2 separate regions of the Homo sapiens genome follow, and region 2 is linked to region 1. The links are contacts of gene promoters, found by promoter capture Hi-C in human tissues and cell types (Jung and others, 2019). All regions are on one chromosome and are shown on one strand. Each heading gives the region's core, a stretch centred on a gene start or on the middle of the fragment in contact. The rest is flanking DNA. Distances are from core to core; before and after follow the strand shown.

Region 1 (5,716 bases), core at 894-3,393:
GCAAATGCATCAACTATGCTCCAAAACACTCAGGAGCAAAACTTTGGAATTGTTTTTTCCTCTTTGGTCTTCACATGCCTTCAGTTGCTAGGTCTTCTAGACCCAAAAAAATCTCCCCAAACTATGTCATTCTTTGCACATTAATTTCACTGCCCTGGTGGAACGTCTCTTTAATTCCCCAAGGCTAGCCTGATAATTTCCTAATTGGTCTACTTCAAGCCAACCTACATACTGCTGCCAAGTCAATAATATCCAAGTGCAAACCGAATGATGTCTCTCTCTTGCTGTAAAACATTCCATGGCTCCCATGGCATGTATAATTGTAGTCAATGTCACCCTGTTTTCCTTTTTAAAAAAAATGTAGGCTGGGCACAGTGGCTCACACATGTAATCCGAGCACTTTGGGAGGCTGAGGCGGGCAGATCACCTGAGGTCAGGAGTTTGTGACCAGCCTGGCCAACATGGTGAAACCCCGTCTCTACTAAAAATACAAAAATTAGCCAGGTATGGTGGCGGGCGCCTTTAATCCCAACTACTTGGGAGGCTAAGCAGGAGAATCGCTTGAACTTGGGAGGTGGAGGTTCCAGTGAGCTGAGACAGCACTATTGTCTGTCACCCACGCTGGAGTGCAATGGTGCGATCTCGGCTCACTGCAACCTAGACCTCCTGGGTTCAAGCGATTCTCCTGCCTCAGCCTCCCCAGTAGCGGAGATTACAGGCGCCCACCACCATGCCCGGCTAATATTTGTATTTTTGTAGAGACGGGGTTTCACCATGTTGGCCAGGCTGGTCTAGACCTCCAGACCTCAGGAGATCTGCTCACCGGTCTCCCAAAGTGCTGGAATTACAGGCGTGAGCCACTGCGCCCAGCCGAAACTCCGTTTCAAAAAAATAAAAATAAAAATAATGTATCCAACTGAAGTGTCACCCTGTTTTCTACAACAAAGCTACAGTTTTCACCTCCAGTTTCATCTGGCAGTACTCCCTGGATGTACTCTGCGCTTCCACGTAAGAGGAACTGCACTTGCTCCCAGGGCTCCTCCCTCAGCTCAGCTTGGTCACCTGCAAGCCTCTATTGGTGCCATTCTTCACCCCAGGAATGCTGTTTCTTCTCAGAGCCCCCTCAGTTCAGGACAGCACTCCCTCCAGTAGCCTTCCTGACTCCCTTGGACCAGATGTGATTTCTTCCACATCTGAGTCTTCCCAGTTCTGGGAGGTTTTACTGAATCTTTTTAATAGTGCTTACTTCCTACCTGACCTAGACTGACTGTATATTCCCTTATGCAGAGACTTTGTGTGTCTCGTTTGCTTATGCACAACATGTGTTCCAAAGATATTTGACAGAATCGAAAGAGAAAACCGATTCCTGCCCGGAAACCTTTGGACAGAAGAATCTACATTCAGTAGCCTGACAACTCTGCCTTAGCAAACAAGTTGGTCAAACATGCCTAACTCCATGACAAAGAGGAACTAACTTGAGCCCTCCCTGGTGAACAATGGCCTGCTGCACTTTGCTTTAGGATTTTGTTTCTTAACTTTTCATTTTAGAATAATTTTAGATGTACAGTAAATTGCAAAGATAGTACTAAGAATTCCTGTGTACCTTTTACCCAAATTCCTCTAATGTCAACATTTGTGTACAATTTGTCGAAATTAAGAAATTAACATGGGTACGTGCTATTAACTAAACCACAGCCTTTATTATTTTTTCCACTAATGTCTTTTTCTGTTTCAGGATCCAAACCAGGATACTGGCGCTATAGTTTTATAAGGCTCAAAATTAACAGAAGAGAAAAAAAGTAAAGCAGGTGGAGAGGCAGAGAGAGAAATAGGGTCTCTGAAATCTATTTCTTATTTTTTTCTTATCAGACGAGGCCATTAAACTGGCATTCAGGGAAAAGGATTTGGGCAGTTTGTCCACAACCTGCAGAGTTTCCACGAATCTGCGCATCCCGCCCCTGCCCTGGGTCCTCCCCACTCCCGGTTCCCACCTGCCAGGTCTGACCCCGGGTACCCTCTCAAGGTCCGTGGCGGGGACCGGAGCCCGGACTCCAGCTCAGCGAACAGCACCCTCCTACCGCCCCGGCGCCCCACTCAGCTCGCTCACCTGGCAAGTAGCCTCCTCTCCGTGCGCGTGCGCCGCTGCCGCCGCGCGTCCTCCGGGCCACCACGTGACCGCGTGGGCGCAGTCCCAGACAGGAAACGCCGGTGAGGTCGCCCTGGGCCATGGAGGCAGCTCGCGCTACTTTTTCGCGACCTCACTGTGTTCCTGTGTGCAACCTGATGTTAGCTCTGTCCACCTTCAGCTCCAAAGCCAACCACGGGTAACCAATATGCAAACAATGACATGAGATTTAGAAAAACAACAAGACGGGGCCTGTGTCAATACAGGTAAAATTTGGTGGTTCAAACATTGAGGTTCAGACCGGCGCGGGGTTTCACACCTGTAATCCCAGCTTTTGGGAGGCCAAGGCGGGAGGATCGCTTGAGGCCAGGAATTCGAGACCAGCATGGCCAACATAGTGAGACCCCGCTCTACAAAAAATTTAAAAAGTAGGGCTGGGCGCGGTGGCTCACGCCTGTAATCCCAGCACTTTAGGTGGCCGAGGCGGGTGGATCACGAGGTCAGGAGATTGAGACCATCCTGGCTAACACAGTGAAAACCCTTCTCTACTAAAAATACAAGAAATTAGCCGGGCGTGGTGGCGGGTGCCTGTAGTCCCAGCTGCGCAGGAGGCTGAGGCAGAATGGCGTGAACCCGGGAGGCGGAGCTTGCAGTGAGCCAAGATCGTGCCACTGCACTCCAGCCTGGGCAACAGAACGAGTCTCCGTCTCAAAAAAAAAAAATAATTAAAAAGTAGCGGGTGTGGTGGTGCGTACCTGTAGTCCCAGCTACTCAGGAGGCCGGGAGGCCGTCAGGTGGGAGGATCCCGTGAGCCTGGGAGATCCAGGCTACAGTGACCACTGCACTCCAGCCTGGGCGACGGAGTGGAGACCCTGTCTCAAAAAAGAAACAAACCAAAACCAAAATATTAAGTCTCTAGGAATCCTGTAAGAGAAGGGTAGATCGGGCCAGGTGCGGTGGCTCACGCCTGTTAACCCAGCACTTTGGGAGGCCAAGGTGGGTGGATCACCTGAGGTCAGAAGTTTGAGACCAGCCTGGCCAACATGGTGAAACCCCATCTCCACTAAAATACAAAATTTAGCCGGTCGTCACACGTCCGGAGGCCGAGCCGTCGCGTACCTAGGATGCCGCGTGGAAGCCGAAGCCGCACCTCCCGCATGGCCCCTCCGGCCAGCCAGGCCCCCTCAGATGAGAGCTGCACCCAGGCCAGTACCAGTCGTTCAGCCACCAGCAGCGGCACCCCCATCTGTAGTTGGCTCTTCTGCTGCTGCGCCCCGGCAGCCAGGTCTGATGGCCCAGATGGCAACCACTGCAGCTGGCGTGGCTGTGGGCTCTGCTGTGGGTCACGCCATTACTGGGGCTTTCAGGGGAGGAAGTAATGCTGAGCCTGCGAGGCCTGACATCACTTACCAGGAGCCTCAGGGAACCCAGCCGGCACAGCAGCAGCAGCCTTGCTTCTATGAGATCAGTTTCTGGAGTGTGCCCAGAACCAGGGTGACATCAAGCTCTGTGAGGGTTTCAATGAGGTGCTGAAACAGTGCCGACTTGCAAACGGATTGGCCTAATCAAGAAGTTCAACCTGGAGAGATGGAAAATCAGCTCTCATAACTAAGTTAATTTAGTATAAAAATAGAATTGATAGTGAGGGTATAAAGTGTAACCATGAGTTAAACCTCTCCTGTCATTCCTAGCTTCCTTGCTTCAGAATTGAAATGGAAGGGGGGTGTTCCTACTCTGTAGAATCTGTGACAGGGCAAATGTTTGTGTGGCCTCCTTAAACTAGCTGTTATGATTTTATTCTTTGTGAGTTAATTAGAATAAAGTCATTTTCTTCCAAAAAAAAAATTAGCCGGTCGTGGTGGCAGGTGCCTGTATTCCCAGCTGCTTGGCTGAGGCAGGAGAATCTCTTGAACCCGGCAAGCGGAGTTTGCCGTGAGCCGAGATCGCGCCACTGCACTCCAGCCTGGGTGACAGAGCAAGACTTTGTCTTAAAAAGAGGAGGTGGGGGTGGGAGAGAGAGAGAGAGAGAGAGAGAGAGGGAGAGGGAGGGAGAGAGAGAGAGAGAGAAATCTAAGCTGAGGTTCAGAGGTAGAGGCAGTCATTGAAAAACAGGCTTTTGCGGGCGGGCGGCGTCCACTGCAAGGATGCACTGTCTGGCTCCCTCTGGAGGCGGGAGCACGAAGGAGCGACCACGGAGCCCTTGAGCCTGTGGATGGTGGCCTCGGCGGCCGGCAGGCCATGCTGGAGTATCTGCCAACCTGATGAAGACGAGGACGTCCCACAAGTTCCGGACAGACGTGGCCGCCAAATTAATGAGGAAAGAAAAGGAGTCTTTTTTTTTTTTTTTAAAGACAGAGTTTTTCTCTTGTTGCCAGGCTGCAGTGCAGTGGCGAGATCTCAGCTCACTGCAACCTCTGCCTCCCGGGTTCAAGTGATTCTCCTGCCTTAGCCTCTGGAGTAGCTGAGATTACAGGTCTGCACCACCACGCTCAGCTAATTTTGTATTTTTAGTAGACAGGGGGTTTCTCCATGTTGGTCAGGCTGGTCTCGAACTCCTGACCTCAGGTGATTCGCCCGCCTTGGCCTCCCAAAGTGCCGGGATTACAGGCGTGAGCCACCGTGGCTGACCAAAGGTGTCTTAAGCTTAGAAAAATGATAAAAGATATAAAAGCTGCCTAGGAATGAAACTACTGGGTCATATGAGGCTCCTTCAGGGTGCGCAAAGTCCTGGAAACCAGCATGCAGATAAGGAAAGAAAGAGACCATCAGTCCATGCAGTTGTCAGCTGGCTGGGAGCTGAGGAGAGTCACTTGTGGAGGCACCTGATCTTTGTCCCCCACGTCCCAGACAAGCCCATATCTCACTTTCAGAACTAAGATGCTTGGGAAACCAAGACAAGGAACTGTGTATTGCAAACAGCATTACCCTAGAGAAGAAGTGGCAGGAGATGACCTACAAAAAAATGGAGCAATAGCCTAGAGCAAGAAACAGAACAAAAGAGAACTGAGTCACCTCCTGGAAGGTCACACAAGACAAGCACATATTCAGGGGCCTCCTAACAGACTAGACTTCCAGCATCCTCAGTTGGGGCTAGACACTTTTTACATAGACATTCAATACTAGAGAACTCAGGGACATCTGATTTATACCATGAAATACATACACAGCAGATGTGTGCCTGTGGAGCAGAATTCTGGAAAAGCTCACAGCCCAGAACATAATGCAGACTCCCCCAGCCACAGCACCTTCCAATCCTGAGAAGAGTGCTGATTCTCCATCTGAGCACCCATTCTCCTGCAACATCAGGGGAGAGGAGTTCACCTAAGGATCAGACCAGTATCTCCAAACCCAGCTCCCCACCTCTGCCTGTTGGTGGCACTTGTGGGTGAAGGGGAGATGGTATGAAAAGACTCACAACAGGAGTCACCTGAACAAGGTGGGGCTTGGTGGAAACTGACATTTGTTCCTGTTGGAGGCAAATGTGGAATTTGGCATCTTGCCTTAGCAACAGACACATGAAATTCTCCAGTGCCCAGGACTTTTGACAGTGACTTCAAAGCACAGCTGGGAGACCCATGTGGCCCAGGCTCT
Region 2 (5,818 bases), core at 85-2,584, 300 kb before region 1:
AATCTGAGGACCACCATTGGAGAACCACTGTCTTTGTAGAATGCCGCCTTAATGAAGCTTATTTTGATCTGGGTGTGTTTCAGCTATTAGAAAAGGAGGATTCGAACTCTAAACATGGAAGACAGGGCAGCAACACAGAAAGGAATTATATGAAGATCTCCTTATCAAAGCGGCCTGGCAAATAGGGCACAATGAGATGCAACAAAATTAGGCAGACCAGTCTTCCTAAAGATCCAGCTAAAACCAAAGAAGATAATTTGGAGTTGGGCCAGGGTAAGATCCAGAAACTAAGATTTCTCGGTTATTTATAGAGCAGTCATCATATTTGTAAGATGCCTATGAGATACATATATATGACAAAGGAAGGAGGTGGCTCAGGTCTGTCTATTAGGGATTCCTTCAGCAAAGTCTCAACTGGGATCAAGTCTTGTTCAAAGTAAAGCCTTCTTTCTAAATCCACCTACCTCTGTTAACTATTGTTTTCTTCTGTCTCTTCTCAACTATGCTCTTACTGAAACATCAGCTCCTGGGACATCCCTTGTCTTGTTTCCCAGTTTTGTTCCTACCTATGTTTTGCCAGGATTCAGAGGAGCTGGGTTCTAGGCTTGATTAAAATCTTTCTAATCGTGTCATCTTGTTAACATCTTGTTGGTCATCTGTTTACACCTCTTGAATATCAGATCTAGCCCAGATCTGATCCTTTCCCCCATACTCATATTAAAATGCACCCCCACCTTCGCCTGTAGAGGGCCATCCTTGCCCCACTCCACATATTTAGCTCAGGAGTTATTGTCTCCATCCTGGCTAATCAGAGTTAACCACATACTAGGAAAACAGAACTAAGAGATGTCAAGGGAATCTGGGCCCTGATGGTATCAATCGAACATCTCTTTCAAGGCACATTGAAAGCTCACTCTAGTCCTGAACTTTTCAATTCTGTGAGCCAAAACACAGAGACAGAGACAGACAGAGAGACAGATACCTTTTACTGTGTAATCCACTTTGAGTTTTCTGTCGCTTGTAATGCATCTTTCTTGGAAGCATGTTTTTCATCAATAAAACAAGGATAATACTTGCTACCAAGCTTCAGTAGGATGTAAGTATTTTGGAAAGTCTAAAGCCTATTCAAACATAAAGTATTATTCCTACTTCCTCTTTTATGCTCTTGCCTGAGTTCCTTGCATACTAATACTTTCAAAGCATAAAACATAATACTATACCAAAAGAACATTTTCATTACCTGATATTCCTGTTCTGTGTTCAGGGACTTTTGATCCCATCTGTTCTACAGAATCTTTTATATAATAGAATTCTTTGAAACCAGACCAGCAAAGTTCTGTTTCAATGAACCATTTGTTCCCTAAGCCACAAAAATAGCTCCTGCAAATAAACCCTATGTTTAAAATGGTGTTTGTGAAAACCTCATTTTACCTGTGATATATATGAATGTACTTTGGAAATAAATTTGCCTTGTAAATTTGTCATTGATGTCTAGTAAATTTTCATTACTACTAATTAGTTAAAGTATTAGTTCCTTCTGATTTCTTGATCTTGGGACTTGCTGCTCAAAAAAGGCACTGGCTTTGGGGATCCAACAATGAAAGATCTTGGGTCTTTATTCAAACAGCAGATGATTTTCTTTTCAATGCTGCTGATTTTACTTCTGTGGTTCTTTTTTCTTCATTTCTGCTTCTCCCTCCTTTTCACGACTAATTTGGCTTTGAAATTTGATTCTTTGATTTAATCCATCTGCAATATTTATTCCTCATAGCTATTATCAGTGCCTTTGCAGAAAGTCATCTGTTGCCTGAGGAATTAGAAGACAAGGAGATATTAGGGGTTTGAGTTGCACTCTAAAAAATTAGAGAACAGAAGCAATATATTGGGATGTTAATCCAATCTCAATAAAGCTGTTACTTAAAGAGAAAAAAAGCAATGAGTTAATACTGGCCGACCCCTCAAGAACCCATGCAGAATCACAAACTGATCCTCCCCTGGGTTCATCAGCATGAAGGATGATGGCATTCTTTTCTCGATCCAAATAAAACCCAGCAAACCCTTCTTCAAGTGTTACCAATGAGGCATGTAGAATCACAGTAAGGAGATTTAACTGATAAAGGCATTTTATTTTCCAGCATTTAAGTGTACACTTTAAAGACTAAAATCAATTCCAACGTCCCTATTTATACTCTGGTGGTACACATGTGTATATATAGCAAACCAGCCATTAGGAAAGAAGCTTTGCATCTTTCCACATAATCCAAAATAATGGCAAATTATGATGTGGTGATTAAATCAAGACCTTCCATATCAAAAAATATATTGCGGACTGGATCTATTCAAAGCTACCTTCTTTTTCAATTTTTTATATTTTATTCCACCTTGCCAATGTACTTTCCTTATAATTCATTCTCTAGCTCAGCTGGACTTATTGCTACTTAGAATGGCACATACAACAGTGAAAAGATGATGTCACCCTTTAGCCAAATTGCACTATTATTCCAGAACTGCATGTACTCTCATTCATTTATCTCTGCTGACATCGCTCCACAGGAAGGTTTTCCAGGGCAGATGCGTGCTCCCTTGGCAATAAAAGTGGTGGAGATTGCACATCCATTTTAAAATCCTGAAAGGTAGATTTTAGTAAATCTCAACTTTTTAAAAATGTATTGTGATTAAAGGAGGCATCAGTTGTTGTCCCCAAACCTGTTCTGGTTAAAAACCTCAAAGAATCTTGAATGTGAAACAACCTTCAAAATTTATTCTCATTATACAAATATTTTCTTCATTTAAAGGCATGTTTTAAAAGCTGAATTTAAGAAGAATTGTGCAGATTATAGTGGTCTATTTTGCAAGTATGTGCATATATGCTAAGAAATAACTATACACTTTAGTGAACATTTGATAAGGAGTCGGGGGAAAAATTAGTGAAAGATTATTATGCAGGATTCTATTCAAGTGTGCCAGAACAGCTTTAAAATCAAATGCAAGCATTAGAGATAGGAAGAGACTTTAGGAAGAGGAAGACAAGCAATTGCAGAAATTGTATAAAACAGAAAAGGCAACGTAGGAAGTAAGAGTGAAGAGAAAATCCAGGAAAAATAGGGTTGGGTACAGTGGCTCATAGTTGTAATCCCAACATTTTAGGAAACTGAGGCAAGACAATCGCTTAAGGCCAGGAGTTCAAGACCAGCCTGGACAACATAGTGAAACCCCATCTCTACAAAAAATTTAAAAATTAGCCAGATGTGGTGGCACACACCTGTGGTCCCAGCTACTCAGGAGGCTGAGGCAGGAGGATGGCTTGAGCCCAGGAGTTCAAGGCTGCAGTGAGCCACGATCACACCACTGCACTCCAGCCTGGGTGACAGAGCAAGATTCTGTCTCTTTAAAAAAAAAAATGTGGGGAGGTAGTTTTTAAAAATACATTTTCTTATGTTTTAATCTTTTTAGAATGTAATCCATGCACACAGCAAAAATCCCAATAGCACAAAAGGATATACAAAGAATAGGAATCTCTTTCCCACTCCTGACTCCAGACCCCTAGAATTCATCCCCCACCCAAGGCAAACACTGTTACCACTTTCTTGTTCTCTTCATTTTTGTGTGTGTACCACAGACCACTTCAGTATCTGATAAAGCTTATGGATCCCCCTCTCAGAACAATGTTTGAAAATATGTAAGCTAAAGTGCAGAGGATTACAAAAGAAACCAATTTGCCTGTAATACTGTTCTATCTGTGAATCCCTTAGGGATCCATGGACTCCAGGATAAGAGCATCTACTCTTAGATTCCCATGCATGTACAAGCATATATAGTACAGTATCCTTCCTGCAGTACGCCATCTGCAGGGGGTGCTGCTGTAGCTCGGCCTAGATCCCCTGAAGAAGCCAGTGCACCCATCTCTTGGCTGCTATGAGTGTTAGCAGCTAATGGTTCACAGTTGCCCCCTTCTATAGAGAATTCTCCATCCTGCGGCACATTGTAGCCAGCACAGGGGTATAAAAGGTTGGACAGCTTTATGGTGCAATTCATGCTCCAGAACTCCCTGTGGGATCAGGCTAACACTGATATCCACTGAGATCATCTCTTGCTTACCTTTTATCCACTACTCTATGCTGTTCCCACCCCATCTCCTGGGAGCAACCTCTCCTAAAAACACAAGAATCCCTGTCTCAGTCTTTGCTTCCAGAGATCTCAGCCTAAGACACTTACTCACTGTTTCTTACCTTGCTTTTTTTATTTATTAATTTCTTGGAAAGAATTCCATATCTGTACATTGGAATTGTTGTATTCTTTTAACTGTTGCATTCTTTTAACAGCCCCAATATTATTGTATTCTTTTAACTATTGCATTCTTTTAACAGCCACATACTATTCCATTAAATGGATTTACCATAATTAATTTAGCCCATCTCCAACAGAGCCATTTCCAATAGTTCCTCTCTGGAAACTTACAAATCTAATTTTTACACATCTAAATGCAATTACCTGTACCACCTTGCCACATTTTAAGTATCTAACTAGTTGCTAAGGACCCTTTCTCTAACCTCATGAGCTACAAAACTTTAGTGATTTGCTTTCTTTTTAGGATAAAGCTTTATTCTCAAAACAATTTATCTTTATATTTGACAAACTGTGAAGACTCAGCTGGCTTTTAGCCCCTGCATCTCTTAATCCCCACAGCCCCAGCCTCAGAGCATCAGATCAAGGATTGAGCAATGGACCAATCTCCATTCTAAACTGAAGAAAAACAAGGACCTGCAAATGCTTAACTTGGACCCTCAAATCTCTGGGCCTCATCACTTGCCTCCCTGCTAGTAAGAGGAGTAGATGGGCCTCTTCATTCTGCTAGGAAACTGCTAGATCTCTTGCTCCGTCACACACCCCTCCTAATGACAAACATTAATCCCCAGGGACAGCACAGTATAAACACCTAAAGGGAAGAGAAACAATGTCCTATCTGCCCACACACTGAAAAGCAGTTTTGGCTGGACGCGGTGGCTCACACCTGTAATCCCAGCACTTTGGAAGGCCCAGGCAGGCAGATTGGTTGAGGTCTGGAGTTCGAGACCAGCCTGGCCAACATGGTGAAACCATGCCTCTACTGAAAATACAAAACAAAACAAAACAAAACAAAATTAGCCAGATGTGGTGGCACATGCCTGTCATCCCAGCTACTCAGGAGGCTGAGGTGGGAAGATCACTTGAACACAGGAGGCAGAGGTTGCAGTGAGCCGAGATTGCCACTGCACTCCAGCCTGGGAGACAGAGCAAGACTCCATCTCAAAAAAAAAAAAAAAAAAAAATTAAAATTTTTTTTAAAAAAGCAGTTTCACCCCACAGTATAGTATTTGCCAAAGGTATTTGTTTCAGGCTGCCCCGCACCTTTTGAAAAGCTTTCCTATGTTTAAGAACTTCCCACAGTTTAAATTCCACTTCCCCAATACTGAAATCAGCACTTACCTCCCGTTTTGCAGGTGACTCACACTTTACACAACTATCAAAAAGAGAGGAACACAAATAGGCAGGTGTTGCTTGGAATTCATTTTCTGGCCAAGAAGGAACAGAGTGACCCAGGGAGCCTGGGCTGAAGGTAGGGTGTCCACTGGATTGGTTTGATGGTATAAGTTCTGTTACTTGCATCAGAGAACTCAGGCTGATAACTTCCTACACATTCATTTCTCTTTCCCTCACAGGCTCCTCTCTCCTCCAACCATAAAAAGATACTCAATTTCAATCAAAATCAGAGAAATGCAAAAGAAATCAAGAGAAATATCATTTTCTACCAATAGATTGGCAAAGATGAAAACATTTG

Evidence for each region. The method cuts DNA at HindIII sites, captures the fragments that hold promoters and counts their contacts. A contact is called where the count stands out against the background at its distance.
Region 2: a contact is called between a fragment that was not itself captured here and the fragment with the promoter of CCDC125 in region 1, in 1 of the 25 tissues and cell types used here (dorsolateral prefrontal cortex).

The regions. Positions count from the first base shown.
Region 1 is chr5:69,330,658-69,336,373 of GRCh38, forward strand. It overlaps CCDC125 (coiled-coil domain containing 125), which reads right to left and starts at 2,144. Exons shown (of 12, transcript NM_176816.5): 1 at 1,992-2,144. It also overlaps the pseudogene CHCHD2P2. RefSeq lists a silencer at 5,385-5,679. The HindIII fragment of the contact is 34,363 bases long and covers 1-5,716 here.
Region 2 is chr5:69,028,357-69,034,174 of GRCh38, forward strand. It overlaps LINC02198 (long intergenic non-protein coding RNA 2198), which reads right to left and starts at 1,571. Exons shown (of 4, transcript NR_130778.1): 1 at 1,432-1,571. The HindIII fragment of the contact is 3,211 bases long and covers 1-2,940 here.